2 separate regions of the Homo sapiens genome follow, and region 2 is linked to region 1. The links are contacts of gene promoters, found by promoter capture Hi-C in blood cells and fetal thymus (Javierre and others, 2016). All regions are on one chromosome and are shown on one strand. Each heading gives the region's core, a stretch centred on a gene start or on the middle of the fragment in contact. The rest is flanking DNA. Distances are from core to core; before and after follow the strand shown. Region 1 holds the start of HNRNPA3 (heterogeneous nuclear ribonucleoprotein A3). Region 2 overlaps PDE11A (phosphodiesterase 11A).

Region 1 (2,909 bases), core at 287-2,786:
TTATATGCTGCAAAAATCTGCAATTTACAACTCAATTTTAAGAGTCACAACTAACTGGCAAGTTGGACTTACATTAGGAATGGTATGTATTGTCTGACTATAAGAACGGAGTACAGCAAAACAAAAATTGAGATTTTTAAGAATTAAGATGTCTTGAAATTGTTTTATACTTTAGTCAAGACTTTTTAACACATTGCATGAACTGTCATTTAATGCATGCATTAAGGTTTCCTTCACCCGAAGTTCTTAAATAAGGGGCTCACATTTACATTCTAATGTCTTCCTGTGTCTCCTAGAGGTAGAGATGTTAAACCGTTTAATGTGAAGAGATTGTCACATGCTAGAAAAAAACGTTAATAGCCTAAAGCATTAATTCATGTAATCTCATCTTTTCAAGTCTTGGATAAATGTATTCGATTGACAATAACGAAATCGACAAAAATATTTAGGATCCACATTAAATGTACTGCAAAAACGTGAAAATTTCAACTCTGGTTGCAGTCCTCTAAATAAAATTCCAGGAAACTACAACCAGAGCCGACTCAAAGAATGGGAAAACATGAAGATAAAAAACATTTCTAAATTCTTCCTTAACATACTATACTCAAATTCTTCTCCACCCACCCTCCTCAGCGGCCGGAGCCGGGAAGGAGCTGGCTGGGTTGTTTTTCACATCTACACTCAAATTCTCAAAAATTAAGTCCTTCGCCCACATGGCGGTTTAAGAAGTGTAATGTAAGTACTTTAGCAAAAATATATCAGGAAGTATTTTAAAGCAGCAAAGTTTTTAACAATCTCGTATTTCCAACAGGATGCTGCGAAAAAAAGAAAAGGCCAATTATCGACTTCTCGCGGAGAGGACCCGTAAAAGGCCTAGAAAAGCGTCGGCAGAACTTCAGCGAAAGCACTACCTCCCCATGCTTCGAGGCCATTTGCGGCTTTTTCTGCCGGGCCGCCTCCGCCCTCTTCCCTCCAATCCCAGGCTCGCTTTCCCGGCGGCAGAGCGAGGCGGCGGCCATTGCGGGCCAATGCGCCATTTCGTAACGCGGCGGCGGATCAATGTCAATGTGGCCGCCGCCCGCTTGCTCGCTCGCCCGGATGTGCCTGCTCGTCCCCTCCCCTCCCCCACCACCTCCTCCCAACCGCTCCCGCCGGGGCCCGCCATGCCGCCCTCGGCCTCGCTTCGGAGGCCGCGCAGCCGGCAGGCCGGCTTCCCTCCCGAGGCCTCCCCGACCAAGCCGCGCCTCCAAGGGGCCGCCTGTGCAGCCGAAGGTGAAGGCGAGGCGGGCGAGGGGCCCCAAGGAGGTCTCCAACTCTCGCTCCCCTCCCCCTCCCACAGCCTGTCTCAACGCAAGAGCGCGGGACGGCCGACCCGGTCCACCCGGCCTCCCCGCTCCCACCGAACCAGGCCCCCAACGCCGGCCATTCCCCACCAACCCCCCGCTCTCCCCCTAATACCTCCTCCCCCCGGCGGCGACGGCGACGGCCGGAGTCGGGCTGGGGGCGACCGGGCGGCGGTTTTACCTCCATTTTGAGACCGGACTCGCCTCTTCCAACTCGAGTTCAATATGGGACCGAGAGGAAGAGGCGGGGCCAGTCGTCACGTGACGCGTTTTCCGCGCGCCGCCAGTCTGTTGGGGGAGGAGCGAATTGGGAAGGGGGCGGAGCCAAGCGGGCGCGAAGAGGGACTGGACCAGCGGGTTGGCGGGCGGAGGGCGGAGGCGCGGCGTGCCGCGGGAGCGCGCGCGCCTCGCCAGCTTTCAGGGGAAGAGGGCCTTTGCCGCCGTTCGCGTCAGGGCGAGTTCCGGGACGTCAGTGCGGTCTCCGCCAATGGTGAGCGTCCACGTAGAGGGAACGCCTTGTGATCGCGCGTCACCAGAGAGAAAGGCCTTTCCCTTTCTTCTCGCGCTTGTCCCTCATTCCCCACGCAGGCCTCTAGTTCTCCATTTCAGAATTCATTCTATTCCTGTGCCCGAAATAAAACCCACGTTTTTCTTGCTTGTAATTTAAAGGTTGCAAGAAAAACTCCTCGGCCCCTCGGACCATCTTTCCTGTTTCCAAATGCCGGGGACCAGTGTCTGTGACTGCGCCGCCTGCCTGAGGGCATGTACTGAAAAGCCCTGCGACTCCAACATGTGGGACTCACAAGCACCTTGGACAGGCCTCAAAACGCGGCTGACATACAGAATTTTTACCATTAACGACCTGAGGCAGGACTGGTGGAGGTCAGTTCATTAGTTACTGATCTCAAGAAACAAGTCAGGACTATTTTCTAATGTGCTTCTTTCAAGTTAGTGTGGAAAGAGCTGATGCATCTGTTGTAGCTGACGGAATTTAAGGAACTGAATAATTGACAAGATTTCCAGAAAAGCAGGGTCGCCAGATAATGCTACCTGTTTGCGAATGATTGTTACCGTAATGCTCTAGAGAGCTAATCCTTTCTCGGCCTAGTCAGATGATTTTAAATCATTTGATTTTACAGAGCTTTAGTTTCAGTTTTTTAAATGAAAATGGGGATGGGATTAGGTCATCTTCTAACACCCACGACAGCCATAAATTGATAATCTATGGATCCATATTTAAAGTTACTGATAAAAATAACCACAATTGACCAGCCTCCCTTCCCTGTTAGGAAATGCTTTATATTTTAATTTAGCAACCCATGTGACCAACCCTTTTAGAATTGAACTGGCTCTCCCTAGGAAAGGTTAGAAATCTAATCAGTTATAGTAAGTTTCTGTTAACAAATGGGGAGTGGTCGACTTGGAGTTTGGAAAAGGGGAGCGTAAAGTCTAAAAGTTTGTTAATTTATCTAGCCGTTGCTCCAGGAGGACCTGTGTTATAGTTTGGAAACATTTACAAAGGGTATTTTTGTGGGGCAGAAAACAGTTAGCAGTCCTTAATGTAAT
Region 2 (2,909 bases), core at 139-2,638, 540 kb before region 1:
CCAAAGGGCAAATTTCAAACAATTCCTGTGCTGAGTGATCCCATTCCTCTTGCTACTAGGTTCATTTTCCTAACACATACTATAATTCACCTCTGGCCTTCCTGGAGATGGAGACGAGTTCTGTGAAAACCAAGCTTTGTGATTTCTGTGGGAACAGGTGGCCGTCCTCAACACTTGGGCTTAAGTTTGTCAAACAACTCCGTAAACCACTGAAGCTGGCTTTTGAGGAAAACCACTTTTTACTCTTCCCCTCACCACCAACAGAAAAGATTTAGAATTCAGAAATGAACGAGAAGAGAGTGAGAGGCTTTCTGTGATGACATTTCTCCAATATGAATTTAAAGGGAATTTCTTTCCCTTTAAAACCATGAAGAAATTTATGCTTCTGCCTGAAATATCTTTTAAACCATCAGTGGTCTTCTTGAAAACAGCTTTACTCCGGTTCTCTGAGGAGTTGTGTGTGAGGGCAAAAGCTGGTTATTTTGATAACCCCTGAAAGACCAGGGGCCCACTATTCTAGTGTTAGCAGTGGCCCTGTCTGACCTGGGGTGCAAACAAGCTTCTCTCCCAACAGGAACTCTTTCTCTTATTGTGTGGTAAATTCATTAGTGGGAAGGCAGGGTTGAAATGGCCCCAAGGTCCCAGATGTAAAATCTCCTTCCTCTATATAGTATGTAAAAGCCCAAAGTCTTCCCAGGAAGTGTTACAAATGAGAGCGTAGTGCACACCAAAAGGAAACCCTGCCCCACAGAATGGGCTCCTGCAAAACCATCTGCTACCCTCAGAGCCACTTGGTGATTCCTGGGGCTGGCTGCTGTGACTCTCCACTAAGCACCCAGGTGGCCCCTTGGGCCAAATATGAAAAGCCTCACATTGCACATGGAGCCCTTGGGTACTCACTGCAGACTGGCTTGCTCTACAAAGGGGTAAAAGTGGCCTCTGGCAGAGCCTGGGTTTCTCATCTTTCAGCAACCCCTTCTAGAAGGGAACTATGGAGTCCCAAGTTCCAGTTTGGAAAATATCAGGGACATTTTCTGATTGGTCCGCTTGGCCCACTTGGTTCCCCTGTCCATCCCTGGACCAGTCAACTGTGATGAGGAGTGTGTGCTTAGGAAAGTGTGTCAGTTGGAAAAATCAAATCCAGGTGGAAACATGGGGTCGCAGCAGAAGGAGGGCCAGTTCTAGAAAGGAAAGAGGTACCTGGTGGATGGTATCATAGCTGTCCTTCACAGTACATGCAGGTAACTTTTGCATGACCCCATGCCCTCTTTTATGGCAGGCAGGCATTTCCTGGGATACAGGCAAGATGCTCACAAGAGCCTCTTCGTAATGTCTAGAAACTGGGTGACACCCACAAGTGATCGCTCTGTCTGCTGAAGTGGTTCCACAAGTGATGTTGGCTATATAGCATTATTGAAAAGAATGTTCTACTATGTCCTTAAAGCATTTCTATTTCCACAACTAAGTAGAATCAGGGGTGACCCCACTGATGCTCACCCTGATTTGGCTCTCAAACTTACCCAAATATTATAAGGCAAATAAATATAACTTCCAGGGACATGCCAATTAAATTGGTCCAGGAACTCCTCACTAATGACTAGCCCATCAGGTCATCTCAGATCAGCCTCTTTCTCTTGTGTTTGAACACTGTAGTCTCTGATATATAGAAAAGCCCCCTGCAACTGGATCAACCAATAACCCACAGATTTCTTCTAGTCATTTCTTCATGAATTTATTGGGACCTGCTGGAGAATTAAGGAGATCAGACAGGCCAAACATCCCTAGATCTGATATTTGAAACTCATAGTAAAATAGCTCAATTCCTAATCTACTTCCTGGCCTCATTAGAATTCAATTAGTAGAAGGACATTCCTTCCTAGAGGCTCGTTGGCAGATTTGTGTGTGAACAGTTAACCCGGTGTTAGCAAAAGCAGTTACTTGTATCCAAACAGCTCTCTCCAGCTGCAAAGCTGAACCCCAAGGCTGTTTAGACAGGACTGTGCTTATCCTCCCACCAGGATGCAAATATTTTAAGTGGACAGAGTGAGATAAAATGCAGCCAATGCTGCCCCTGACACTGACCGCATACTGTGCCTGCTGGATTTTTGGACTTGAAGGTCAGGGGAGGAAGGTGAAGGAAGGGACGCTGGAGACAAGGAAGCAAAGAAAATCTTCCATGACTTTGTTGAAAATTATTTTCCAAATAAACAAGCTTGGGCTTTAAAATGTATGAACACAAATTCTACCAAAGTATGTGGAAATACCCATATATTTCTTGAACAGGAAGAACTGCTCATCAGACCATAAAAAGCAGGAGATCTGAGGGTAGGACAACCTTGAGTTTTTTTGTTTTTTGTTTTTTGTTTTTGCATTTTTTTTGTCTGCAGTATTTTCTGCAATGTTCTTCAGATGCCTGAATGTAGACTCAGGGAGATTTATTTTTCTTCTGACAGGGTATGTTATAGTTGTCACTCAGCCTTGAAATAGTCTTTCCCTCCAGTGGACCATCAGGCCAGTAATATATTTGCGTAGCTCTTCCCAACTGTCACTCCTCTGCCAGCCTTCATGCGTCAGCATTGCACAGTATGCCTAGCCAGCCAATGGCAGGCTTTGAAGCTGCTGCCTTTAAGGAACTTGTTTTCAAAATATTCGCAGTCACCCAGCAACAGGAAAAGGCATTTCATTGGCTCTCTCACTGTCAGCTGGAAAGGAGGATGATCCAGATGGGCCTCAGCTGTGAAGATCAAGATTAGACATGGGGGGCGGGGCAGATATTTGGACACAGAAGCCTCTCAGTGGCAAATGTGGTATTTTATAAGTATCAGATGAAGCAATGCTTTCATCCATAAAAATCAAATGTAAAAAATGTGACACCACACCAGGGCAGGTAGTTTTCATCTGCAGTGTCA

Evidence for each region. Contacts are between HindIII fragments. The CHiCAGO score rates a contact against its expected background, and 5 or more counts as called.
Region 2: a contact is called between a fragment that was not itself captured here and the fragment with the promoter of HNRNPA3 in region 1, in 1 of 17 cell types (megakaryocytes). The highest score is 6.0, in megakaryocytes.

Annotation. Positions count from the first base shown.
Region 1 is chr2:177,211,421-177,214,329 of GRCh38, reverse strand. HNRNPA3 (heterogeneous nuclear ribonucleoprotein A3) reads right to left here and starts at 1,536. Exons shown (of 11, transcript NM_194247.4): 1 at 1,459-1,536. The coding sequence starts at 1,530. It overlaps MIR4444-1 (microRNA 4444-1), which reads right to left and starts at 1,604; the gene lies at 1,531-1,604. LOC105373759 (a long non-coding RNA gene) reads left to right here and starts at 1,919. Exons shown (of 1, transcript NR_157853.1): 1 at 1,919-2,909. RefSeq lists an enhancer at 898-1,569 and a silencer at 1,109-1,898. The HindIII fragment of the contact is 9,993 bases long and covers 1-2,909 here.
Region 2 is chr2:177,753,810-177,756,718 of GRCh38, reverse strand. All of the region lies in intron 10 of PDE11A (phosphodiesterase 11A), which reads left to right. Among named protein-coding and RNA genes, the nearest start is that of PDE11A-AS1, 82 kb to the right of the region's middle. The HindIII fragment of the contact is 1,653 bases long and covers 562-2,214 here.